Linked DNA regions of Homo sapiens: regions 2, 3 and 4 are each linked to region 1. The links are contacts of gene promoters, found by promoter capture Hi-C in human tissues and cell types (Jung and others, 2019). All regions are on one chromosome and are shown on one strand. The core of a region is centred on a gene start or on the middle of the fragment in contact, and the rest is flanking DNA. Distances in the headings are between cores, read along the strand shown. Region 1 holds the start of AGXT (alanine--glyoxylate aminotransferase). Region 2 holds the start of D2HGDH (D-2-hydroxyglutarate dehydrogenase). Region 3 holds the start of PDCD1 (programmed cell death 1). Region 4 overlaps FARP2 (FERM, ARH/RhoGEF and pleckstrin domain protein 2).

Evidence for each region. The method cuts DNA at HindIII sites, captures the fragments that hold promoters and counts their contacts. A contact is called where the count stands out against the background at its distance.
Region 2: a contact is called between the fragment with the promoter of D2HGDH here and the fragment with the promoter of AGXT in region 1, in 2 of the 25 tissues and cell types used here (lymphoblastoid cells and neural progenitor cells).
Region 3: the fragment with the promoter of PDCD1 here is called in contact with the fragment with the promoter of AGXT in region 1 in 1 of the 25 tissues and cell types used here (psoas muscle).
Region 4: a fragment that was not itself captured here is called in contact with the fragment with the promoter of AGXT in region 1 in 3 of the 25 tissues and cell types used here (heart right ventricle, hippocampus and spleen).

The regions. Positions count from the first base shown.
Region 1 is chr2:240,867,539-240,870,238 of GRCh38, forward strand. It overlaps AGXT (alanine--glyoxylate aminotransferase), which reads left to right and starts at 1,286. Exons shown (of 11, transcript NM_000030.3): 1 at 1,286-1,492; 2 at 1,632-1,824. The coding sequence starts at 1,328. RefSeq lists an enhancer at 805-1,305. The HindIII fragment of the contact is 24,692 bases long and covers 1-2,700 here.
Region 2 is chr2:241,733,277-241,735,976 of GRCh38, forward strand. D2HGDH (D-2-hydroxyglutarate dehydrogenase) reads left to right here and starts at 1,354. Exons shown (of 10, transcript NM_152783.5): 1 at 1,354-1,419; 2 at 1,857-2,240. The coding sequence starts at 1,949. RefSeq lists silencers at 881-930, 971-2,020, 2,031-2,140 and an enhancer at 2,181-2,420. The HindIII fragment of the contact is 17,644 bases long and covers 1-2,700 here.
Region 3 is chr2:241,857,535-241,860,234 of GRCh38, forward strand. PDCD1 (programmed cell death 1) reads right to left here and starts at 1,360. Exons shown (of 5, transcript NM_005018.3): 1 at 1,229-1,360. The coding sequence starts at 1,304. LOC124908032 (a long non-coding RNA gene) reads left to right here and starts at 1,538. Exons shown (of 2, transcript XR_007088436.1): 1 at 1,538-2,543. RefSeq lists an enhancer at 566-1,528. The HindIII fragment of the contact is 28,999 bases long and covers 1-2,700 here.
Region 4 is chr2:241,485,322-241,488,021 of GRCh38, forward strand. All of the region lies in intron 21 of FARP2 (FERM, ARH/RhoGEF and pleckstrin domain protein 2), which reads left to right. Among named protein-coding and RNA genes, the nearest start is that of MIR3133, 8.8 kb to the left of the region's middle. The HindIII fragment of the contact is 9,439 bases long and covers 1-2,700 here.

The DNA of each region.
Region 1 (2,700 bases), core at 36-2,535:
TTTGAGAAATGTAGAATGAATTAGACTTCCCTATTATCTAAAGTTGGCACCTGGTTCCAGGCCTCTTTTCAACCTAAAACTTATACATAACTAGAATTTCTATACATCTCTGGAATGCAGCATGCTGAAACTCACTGTGCAACCCCTGCCTTGTGTGTGTCTGTATACCATGCAGGTTTGCTTGCTAAATTGAGCCTGTAAACCAAAAAGTACCTCAAACAGGTCTCAATTAATTTAGAAAGTTTTTGTTGCCAAGGCTAAGGATGCACCCGTGGTACAGCCTCAGGAGGGAGGACATCCTTGCCAAGCTCAAGGGTGCACCCCTGACCACAAGGGCCCAAGGTGGTCGGGGCACAGCTTGCTTTTATACATTTTAGGGAGATATGAGGCATCAATCAATACATGGGAGATTTACATTGGTTCCATCTGGAAGGGCGGGACAACTTGAATTGGGGGGCTTCCAGGTCATAGGTAGATTTAAACATATTTTGATTGGCAACTGACTGAAGAATTATTATCAGCAGAAAGGAGTGTCTGGGTTATGAAATAGGGGTTGCAGGGAGCAGATGATGCCTTCAGGTAGCGGGATTTAGAGAGAAAATAGATGGTAAATGCTTCCTATCAGACTTAAGGTCTATGTCGATGTTAATGCTGGGGGTTATGATGTGGCATGGCCTGAACGTCTTCCGGGTTAAAGTTTAGAGCACCCTGGCGGACAGGGAACCCCATTCAGATGGTTGCTGGGGGGCCTTCGAATTTTATTTTTGGTTTACAAGCCTTCCCATCAGCTGCGCCAGGGTCAGCAAACCACAGTCCATGGGCCCAATCTGGCCTGCCACCTGCTTTTTGTAAATAAAGTTTTATAGGAACACGCCCACACCTCTGGCAGCTGCTTTGCAAGCACGCAGCAGGGTTGAGTTGTTGCAACATAGACCACAGGGCCTGCCAAGCCTCAATTATCTGTGCTCCGACCCTTTAAGAAACACTTCTCTCACCCCTGAGCTAAGCAGAATAAGAGGGGCTGGACGTGCAGGACTCAGAGTGGGAGCGAGGAGGGCTGGGGTGAGGACAGCTTTGTCACACTCTGTTTTTCTGTCACTCAGCCCTGGGGGCTCCCTCTGCCTGAGGGCTTCGTCCCCTGCTGCCTGGCCGTGACCCGCAGCACAAGCACAGATAAGCCTCAGGGAACAAAAGGCAGGGCTGCCACGGAAGCCCATCCACCAATCCTCACCTCTCACCTCTGTGTCCGCCCTGCTGGGAAATATTCCAGGCTTTGGCCAAGGCCAGTGCAGCCCCAGGTTCCCGAGCGGCAGGTTGGGTGCGGACCATGGCCTCTCACAAGCTGCTGGTGACCCCCCCCAAGGCCCTGCTCAAGCCCCTCTCCATCCCCAACCAGCTCCTGCTGGGGCCTGGTCCTTCCAACCTGCCTCCTCGCATCATGGCAGCCGGGGGGCTGCAGATGATCGGGTCCATGAGCAAGGATATGTACCAGGTAGGAGTGGGGGTCACTCGGGGGGCCTGGGTCTCACCCATGTTCCCACCCACAGATCGTGGACGAGGGAAGGGGGTCACTGCCTCCTCACTTGGGGAGGCGGGGAGCCTGGGTCTCACCCTATACCACCCGCATGCAGATCATGGACGAGATCAAGGAAGGCATCCAGTACGTGTTCCAGACCAGGAACCCACTCACACTGGTCATCTCTGGCTCGGGACACTGTGCCCTGGAGGCCGCCCTGGTCAATGTGCTGGAGCCTGGGGACTCCTTCCTGGTTGGGGCCAATGGCATTTGGGGGCAGCGAGCCGTGGACATCGGGGAGCGCATAGGTAAGGGAGAGGCCCAGGTGGGGATGGCCCTGGATCCATCCTTCAAGGCCTCCCTGGCCTCCCTCTGTTTGAAGCTGGCAGCCCCCGTTCCTGGGTGAGCGCTTACCCACCTTGTGGCCCTGTGCGCACGAACCTCCTGCCAGCCCACTGCCTCCTCCAGGCGGTGTCGGGCACTCATGAGGCCTGACTCTGATAGGGCTGGGAGCAGCACAGGTGCCCCGATCCCCCCAGTCTCCTTGAGCTGTTTCTGGAGCATGTGCAGGACGGAACTACAGGGAAGCCTCTGGTCCCAGCACACACTCCTGAGAGCCCCGGCCGCTGTCCAGGGCCCCAGGCACCAGCTCTGCTTTGTGACAGGGTGGGGTTTCAGAAGCTGAAGCCTCCCCTCAAATCTCAGCAGCCTTCCTTCTGGAATCTTGATGTGATACACAAAATATGGAGGTATGGGCAGAGTATTCGCCTCCGGAGTACACTTTTCTGGGAGAGACACAGGAGCAGGAGTGTGCCCTGGGTTTAATGATTGATTGTGGCATTGAGGGACATCAGCTTGGTGAGCTCCACAATGGCCATGCTGGTTAATACGCGACCGCAACAGCCAAGAGGGTCCCAACCCCAAGTCCACAAACTTTTCAAGGGGACCCAGGGTCGGCAGAGGCCAGGACCCCAAGTGGACATCAGGGCACGCAGGCTCAGATGCCTGTGGTATATGGCTTCCCTTTTCCCCATTCTGTCCCCTTGGCCGCAGGTTCTTCCCCTCCCACAACCTGGCCCTGAACAGCACACAGGATAGGGCAGAGACAGGGAGGGGGTGAGGGCCTGATTCCTGGAGTCCCCAGCTCCAACAGAGGTCAAGGCTGCTGCCTCACTCACCCCTCA
Region 2 (2,700 bases), core at 104-2,603, 870 kb after region 1:
GTAAGGGGGTCCACAGACCTCATCTGTGGTCGTCTTTCCAGTTCCTGAATGTGTAATTGCAACAGTTACCCTTGACAATGGGCAAACTCCCACACTCATCTGCAGAGCAAGGGCCAGCCAGGTAGGAAGGGCCAGGTGGATGTCTCCTTTCCAGGGTTGTATGAATGATTCACCTGGGAAGAAGGTGAGTGGCCTCTGGGGATGTGGTTAAGGAGGACAGGAATGACTCCTTGCAACTGCTGCTCCAGAGCCTCATCACCAGGACAAATCCAGCTCGCCGGTTTTCTGTGTGACTACCAGGACCCATCTGCTGTCACGGGCGTAGCCTCCACCTCTTGCACAGCTCCGCAGTCCTGCCTCGGGCCAAGTGTGGTCTCCTGCTCTCTGCCCTCATCTGCTCAGAGATTGGCATCCTCTGCACCCGCTAGGGTTCTATGGAATTGGGTGAGCTGAAGTAACAAGTGCTTTGGGAGGCCGACGCGGGCGGATCGCTTGAGTCCAGGAGTTCGAGACCAGCCTGGGCAGCACATGAGACCTCATCTCTACAAAAATACAACAACAACAAAAAATTAGCCGGGTGTGGTGGTGCACGCCCGTAGTCCCAGCTACTTGGGTGGCCGAGGTGGGAGGATGGTTTGAGCTCGGGAGGCAGAGGTTGCAGTGAGCTGAGATCAACCCCAGAACTCCAGCCTGGGCAACAGAGCTAGACCCTGTCTCAAAAAAACACAAAACAAGTGCTGGCGATGCCTCAGGCAGGGGATCCCAGGCCGGGAGGCTCCTCGGGACAGCAGTTACTGCGTCAGGAGGGCAGGAGCTCCCCAGGTGTGCAAAGGGTTTGAGGGCACGGAGGGCTGAACAGGCAGAAGGGACAGGGAGGCAAGAAAACACCTGCAGGAGGCAGCTGCCCCCTAAGCTAAGGCTGGGGACCCAGGAGGGGTGGTCCGTGCAGGAGCTGGGGAGGCCGCTGGGGAAAGGGGCGCCCCCTGGGCTCGGCCTCGGAGGAGCGGGCCGGCCCCCAGGTCCCTCGGCCGAGCCCACGTCCCGGGCCTCGTTCTGGAGAACCCTCCAGCTGCTGCTTGGGCGTCTTGGGCTGCGCTCAGCCTAGTCCCTTCTCTACCTGGAGGGATGCGCCCGACAGCCGGCGCGCCGGAGGCCCTCAGGAAACGCAGGACGAGGCGGTGGCCGTCGAGCCTCCGGTGCCAGTCGGGGCGGGGCTTGGACGGCGGGGCGGGGACTGTAGGCGCGCAGGGCTGGGCCTGGAGGGCAGGCGGGGCGGGGCCCGTTAGGCGCGCGGGGCGGGGCTTCGGCCGCTGGGCGGAGCCGTCAATGCGCAGGCGCGGCGTCGCCCCGCCCACTCCGGCTCGGCGGCTCTGGGCCTGCGGCGGGCGCTGCGGGTTGGAGCTCGGGACGTGATCGTGGGTGCGTGCGCGCGGCCGCGCGGAGCGCTGGGCTGAGGGTCCCGGTCTGCGGTTCAGCCGCGGGTCGGGGTGGCGGGGCGCGATCTCGGGCGCCGTCAGCCAGTCGGTGCCTGTGGGGGGAGGGGGACGGCGCTGCAGCTCGTCACGTGACCGCGTGGAACACGCGCGCGCGTCCGCGGGATCCCCTCGGGGGGCGAGCTCGGAGGAACGGGGTCCTGGGCAAGGTCCCGGCGAGGCCGCCCCGAGCCTGCGCGTCGCTAAGTCCAGGCCTGCTGCGTGGGGCTTCGCGCGCTCGCGGGGTTGCGGCCCGGGCAGGGGGAGGGCCCGGGTGCTCGGAGCCTTCCCTTCGCTGCCCTCCTGCCCCCTCCCTGCTTCTGCAAGCGTGTTTCAATTTGTACAACGTGCATAAAACATGAAATTACCCTTGGCCACTTCCAGGCGCGCAGCCAGCGGCTCCCTGCCCTTCCCCTCCGGGCCCTGAGTACCGGCCCCCCACCAAGGAGGAGCCCGAGGTCTCCGTCCCGGCGGCGATGCTGCCCCGTCGGCCTCTGGCGTGGCCCGCGTGGCTGTTGCGGGGTGCTCCGGGAGCCGCGGGTTCTTGGGGTCGGCCGGTTGGCCCCCTGGCCCGCAGAGGCTGCTGCTCCGCCCCGGGGACCCCCGAGGTGCCGCTGACCCGGGAGCGCTACCCCGTGCGGCGCTTGCCGTTCTCCACGGTGTCTAAGCAGGACCTGGCCGCCTTTGAGCGCATCGTGCCCGGCGGGGTCGTCACGGACCCGGAAGCGCTGCAGGCTCCCAACGTGGACTGGTTGCGGACGCTGCGAGGTGGGTGAGGCTTGGGAAGCTGCGGCGTTTCCGCGTCCCTGCTCCGCTGCGCCTTCCCGTGGAGGCTTCAAAGCGGGCTGAGAACAACCTGGATGGGGGTGCCAGCCCCTGGCTGCGCTGAGAGGGGCGTGTGCACCGCCACAGGCTGCTGGAATGAATGACCACGAACGAGTCGCTTAGAACAACCCAAGTTTTGTTGTTGTTGTTGTTTTGTTTTTTCTTTTTTTTAAGACGGAGTCTCACTCTGTCGCCAGGCTGGAGTGCAGTCACGGAGTTTCACTCTGTCGCCAGGCCGGAGTGCAGTGGCGCGACGTCGGCTCACTGCCACCTCTGCCTCCCGGGTTCAAGCGATTTGCCTGCCTCAGCCTCCCTAGTAGCTGCGACTACAGGCGCCCGCCACCACGTTCCGCTAATTTTTGTATTTTTAGTAGAGACAGGGTTTCACCATGTTGGCCAGGAT
Region 3 (2,700 bases), core at 110-2,609, 990 kb after region 1:
CCCGCAGTCGTCTCCCTGGGATGCCTTTTGGCCCTTTGCTCTTTGCCTTTTGCCCAGAATCTCCAGTTCTGAGTCCTGAGTGACCCACGGGCCAACCTTAAGAGGTGGCGCTGAGGCAGGAAGGCACGGCCCTGACAAGGATGCTGCCTCAGGTGCCGGGGAGCAGGCCCCGGGAGAGGGGCCGAGGTGGGGAACCCCCAGTCGCCTGCCACAGTGAAGGGGCACCAGGACCCCCGGGGCAGGAGCCTCGAGGGGGTGTCAGGGCGGCCCCAGGGGTGCCCCTCATCTTGTCCTCCCAGTGGTGTCACACCCCGGTACCCAGCAGGGCCCAGAGGGACTGTCTTAGGCTTGGCCTGGGTGAAACCACCCTCCCCAGGCCTTGGCATCCCCAGGTGCAGGCTGGCTGGGCACAGAGGGCCAGCCGGGCACAGAGGGTCCAGGAGCGGGCTGTGGTCACAGTGTACACAGAGGGCCCAGGGTCACGGGCAGCCCAGGAAGAGGCTCCCTCTCTCCTCGATCCGGGAGAGTGAGGCCAAGGCCTCCCCCACGGATGGTCTGAACAGGGCTCGGGGAGAGCCCTGGAATCTGGGCAGAGACCCAGGCGGGCACAATCCCCACCCAGGAGGGATCCTGGAGACAGAAGAACTGTCCTCACTCGAACAGGTACACTTTGGATATAATGAGAAAAATATCACCAGCTCATCTAAACTTTGACGTCGTAAAGCCAAGGTTAGTCCCACATGGGGCTCATCCCATCCTTAGGAAAACTCGAGTGAGGACCAAGGATGCCTGGGCAAGGCAGAGCCGCCACGCAGACTCCCCACGGCCAAGGTTTGGGGTTCTGGCCAGCCTGACCCGTCATTCTACAGAAACACGCAGCCCCAAGGACCGGCTGAGAGGGGACAGAGGTCCTGCCTGCCCAGGAGCAAAGAGGGGACTTGGGCCAGGGGAGGAGTTGGGGCCCAGAGAGGAACCCAGGAGTTCGAGCTGCCCAAAGCCACACAGCTCAGGGTAAGGGGCAGAGCTGGGGGCCAAGGCTGGGCCTGCCACAGCACCCCCCGACCTGCCAGGGACTGAGAGTGAAAGGTCCCTCCAGACCCCTCGCTCCGGGACCCCTGGGCTGCCAGGGCCAGGCCCGCCTCAGCACCCCCCGACCTGCCAGGGACTGAGGGTGGAAGGTCCCTCCAGACCCCTGGCTCTGGGACACCTGACCGCCGACCCCACCTACCTAAGAACCATCCTGGCCGCCAGCCCAGTTGTAGCACCGCCCAGACGACTGGCCAGGGCGCCTGTGGGATCTGCATGCCTGGAGCAGCCCCACCAGAGTGCCGCCTTCTCCACTGCTCAGGCGGAGGTGAGCGGAAGGGAAACTGTCCCAGGTCAGGTTGAAGGGAGGGTGCCCGCCCCTTGCTCCCGCCCCCTCTTCCTCCACATCCACGTGGGCGAGAGTGACAGAGGCAGTGCTGGGGGAGGAGGGGTGAGGAGGGGGTAGGACTGGGGAGAGGGTGGGGGAGGGAGAGAGAGACAGAGACAGGGAGACAGAGGAGATGGGGAGGAGGTGGGCCCGTGGCCCCCACGCCCTACCCCGTGGGGGTCTCCCCAGCTCAGGGCCCCTTCCTCCTCTGTGTCTCTGCTCACTGCTGTGGCCTCTTTCCATATCCCGCCCGAGCTGCCCCTCCTGAGGCTGCCGGGTGGGGGCAGGCCCTTCTCCTCCCCCATCCCCCCCATCTCCCTGGGGGCCGGGCCTCCCTGCCTGGGGAAGGTGGGTGGCCCCCTCTGGGCTCAGGTTCCTGGGCTGCAGTGAGGGGTGGGCTCAACCCCACTCCCATTCTGTCGGAGCCTCTGGGAGCCTCCCGGCTGCCCACAGCCTCTGCCCCTGCTGGGGGCAGGTGCCTGGCCTCTGCCTTCCCGGCCCATCCCCCTTCGCTGGGGCACAGGTGACCCTACTGAATGACAACTGTCCATGGCTAATCGGCTCCCCCTCAAAGCTTCCACCTTGTGGATGGCCTCACACCATGGCCACAGTTCCAGATCTTTCCACCGTGTGATGCCTGCAACAGCCTGACGGGGGGGCTGGGGCGGTGGCAGGGGCTGGCTGTGAGGCTGACCTCCCCTTCCAGCCTTGACCTTCTTCCCCGGGGCCCTGCCCTCCAGCCCACTCGTGCCAGGGTGGGGTGGTTCAGGGGGTCCAGTGCCTGGGCCTGGCTGGCGGCCCGGCGTTTGTGAAATGGCTTGCTTATCTCCTTGTATTCTGTGCTGAGCATTTTATTACAGCGAATGGAAAACAGGAGAAATGAAACTGCTGATATTAGTGATGAGATGCGTCAGGCTCATCAGCTTAAAATAACCGAAGCGAGGCTAGAAACCGCCTGACAGCTGGCGCGGCTGCCTGGCTCCGAGAGACACTCGGCCCGGCTCTGAAGGGAAAACATTAAAGCACCGAAACAGTGGAAAAAGAGCATCAAAGATGATGTCTGCGAGGCGCGGCCACGGCGAGGAAGCTCTCGTTTATGAACAAAGGGCCACTCCCGGGTCTCAGAGATGTGAGGCTGTGTGGGTGGCTTGGTGGGGAGGTGGGGGGGGCCCAGCTGGCCAGGTGGGCTTGGCGGGGGGCCCCCAGGGAGCCTGGCAGCACCCACTGTGCTGCCAGACAGCTAAGGTGGCCCGCAGCAACTGTCTCCTGGCACACCCACCCTTGTG
Region 4 (2,700 bases), core at 162-2,661, 620 kb after region 1:
GGATCTTCCCTCATTCCCTGGGATCTTCCCTTCCTAGGATCTTCCCTCCCTCTCTGGCATCTTCCCTCCCTGTGGTCCTCCCTCCCTGGGATCCTCCTTTCCTAGGATCTTCCCTTCCTAGAGTCCTCCCTCCCTCCCTGGGATCTTCCCTCCATCGGCTTCTCCCTCCCTCCCTGAGGTCCTCCCTCACTCCCTGTGATCTCCCCTTCCTGGGATCTTCCCTCCCTGGGGTCCTCCTTCCCTAGGATCTTCCCTTCCTGGAGTCCTCCCTTGCTCCCTGTAGTCCTCTCTCCCTGGGATATTCCCTCCCTGGAGTCCTCCCTCCCTGAGGTCCTCCCTCACTCCCTGTGATCTTCCCTTCCTGGGATCTCCCTCCCTGGGGTCCTCCTTCCCTAGGATCTTCCCTTCCTGGGGTCCTCCTTTGCTCCCTGTGGTCCTCCCTCCCTGGGATTTTCCCTCCCCATGGTCTTCCTCCCCCAGGGCCCTCCCCCAGTAGGGTCCTCCTTCCCTGAGATCCTCTCTCCCTGGGGTCCTCCCTCCCTGGAGTCCTTCCTCCCCCAGTGGGGTCCTCCCTCCCTGGGGTCCTCTTTCCCTGTTCTTTCTTCAAGGGTCTTATCCCTCTGCACTGCCTCCTCCTGACAATGAGCGCCAAAACCCTCAGGCAGGTGTTTGTAAAATTTAATTCCACTTCTCAGGCCCTCAGCAAGAAGAGGTCAGTTTGAATTAGCTCATCTGCCACCACCGGAAGCAGACCCCATTTGTTTTAAAGTATACTTTTAAAAATTACACCTTTATTATAGAAAAAAATAATTGAAAGTATAAGACAGAAATCACTCATCACTGGCCAGTTGCTGTGGCTCACGCCTGTAATGCCAGCACTTTAGGAGGTCAAGATGGTAGGATCGCTTGAAGCTGAGAGTTTGAGACCTGCCTGGGGAACATGGCGAAGCCAAATCTCCAAAAATCTTTTTTTTTTTTTTTTTTTTTTAATTAGCTGAGCAAAAGTGGTGTGTGCCTGTAGTCCCAGCTACTTGGGAGGCTGAGATGGGAGAATCACTTAAGCCCAGGAGGTCAAGGCTGTAGTGAGCCGTGATCGTACCACTGCACTCCAGCCCCAGTGACAGAGTGAGACCTCGTCTCAAAAAAAAAAAAAAAAAAAAAAAAAACACAGAGAAAAGAAACAAGAAAAAGAACTCTATCATCGTACCCACTCAGCAGTGATGGCTGCAGGCATCTGCTGCATGGTTGCCATCACCCACGGGCTGTTTTGTCAGGACACTGGTTTTCCTTTCCTTTCATGGCAGCCCCAGTTCACTTAACTAGTCACCTGTCACTGGACGCTTGGCTGTGGCTGGTTGTTGAGGACTGTAACATTGTTGGATCTCTGTCTTTCTGCACATCCTTAATTATGTCCTTCAGATCAATTCCAAAATGTAGATTTGTCTGAGCAAAGGTGTTTACGGCCTTGGGCACTCCTGCTAAATTGCTGTTGGAGCACCTGCGCCAGCTGACCTTCCCACCTGCAGGAGCTAGGTCTAAACATGCATCTTTCCCTCCACCATGGAAAGTGCTAGGCACCTGTCTCTCTTACTCTTCCCAAGTGGGTAAGGTAAGCAGCCCCATCGAGCAGCCCCATCATTTCACTTTGCATCCCTGCGGACTGTCGGTGAGGCCAGCCTGGCCCCTGTGTCCTGGCATTCCATGCTTTTCCTCTCAGGAATCACTCAGCGTGCTGGTCACTCTGGTCTCCATTGGTCTGTGAGTTTTTTGTACACATTAGTGAAATGTTTATATGATAATGCTCACCAACACTATTAAGTCACAAATTATTTTCTCAGTAACTGCTTTTTACTTTGCCTACAATTTAGTTTTACCTTGTAGAATTTAAACTCCATCTTGATGGGTTCTGTTTCTCTTACTCTAGAATGGCATCTGGCACATATAGGGAACCCAGCAAATGCTTGTTGAAGGTGTGAATTGAAACAGACACTCCTCAACTTATGATGGGGCTATGCCCTGATAAACCCATTGTAAGAGGAAAATAGTATAGTCAAAAATGCATTTAACAGGGCACGGTGGCTCACGTCTGTAATCCCAGCACTTTGGGAGGCTGAGGTGGGTGAATCACCTAAGGTCAGGAGTTTAAGACCAGCCTGGCCAACAGGGCGAAACCCTGTCTCTACTAAAAATACAAAAATTAGCCAGGCGTGGTGGTGGGCACCTGTAGTCCCAACTACTCGGGAGGCTAAGCACAAGAATCACTTGAACCTGGGAGGCGGAGGTTGCACTGAGCCGAGATCACACCACTGCACTCCAGCCTGGGTGACAGAACAAGACTCCCTCTCAAAAAAAAAAAAAAGAAAGAAAAGAAAATGCATTTAATACACTTAACCTCTCTGATGTCATAGCTTAGCCTAGCCTACTCTTTTTTTTTTTTTTTTTTTTTGAGATGGAATCGCTCTGTCGCCCAGGCTGGAGTGCAGTGGTGCCATCTTGGCTCTCTGCAAGCTCCACCTCCCGGGTTCACGCCATTCTCCTACCTCAGCTTCCTGAGTAGCTGGGACTACAGGCGCCCGCCACCACGCCTGGCTAATTTTTTGTATTTTTTAGTAGAGACGGGGTTTCACCGTGTTAGGCAGGATGGTCTCGATCTCCTGACCTCGTGATCCACCCGCCTCGGCCTCCCAAAGTGCTGGGATT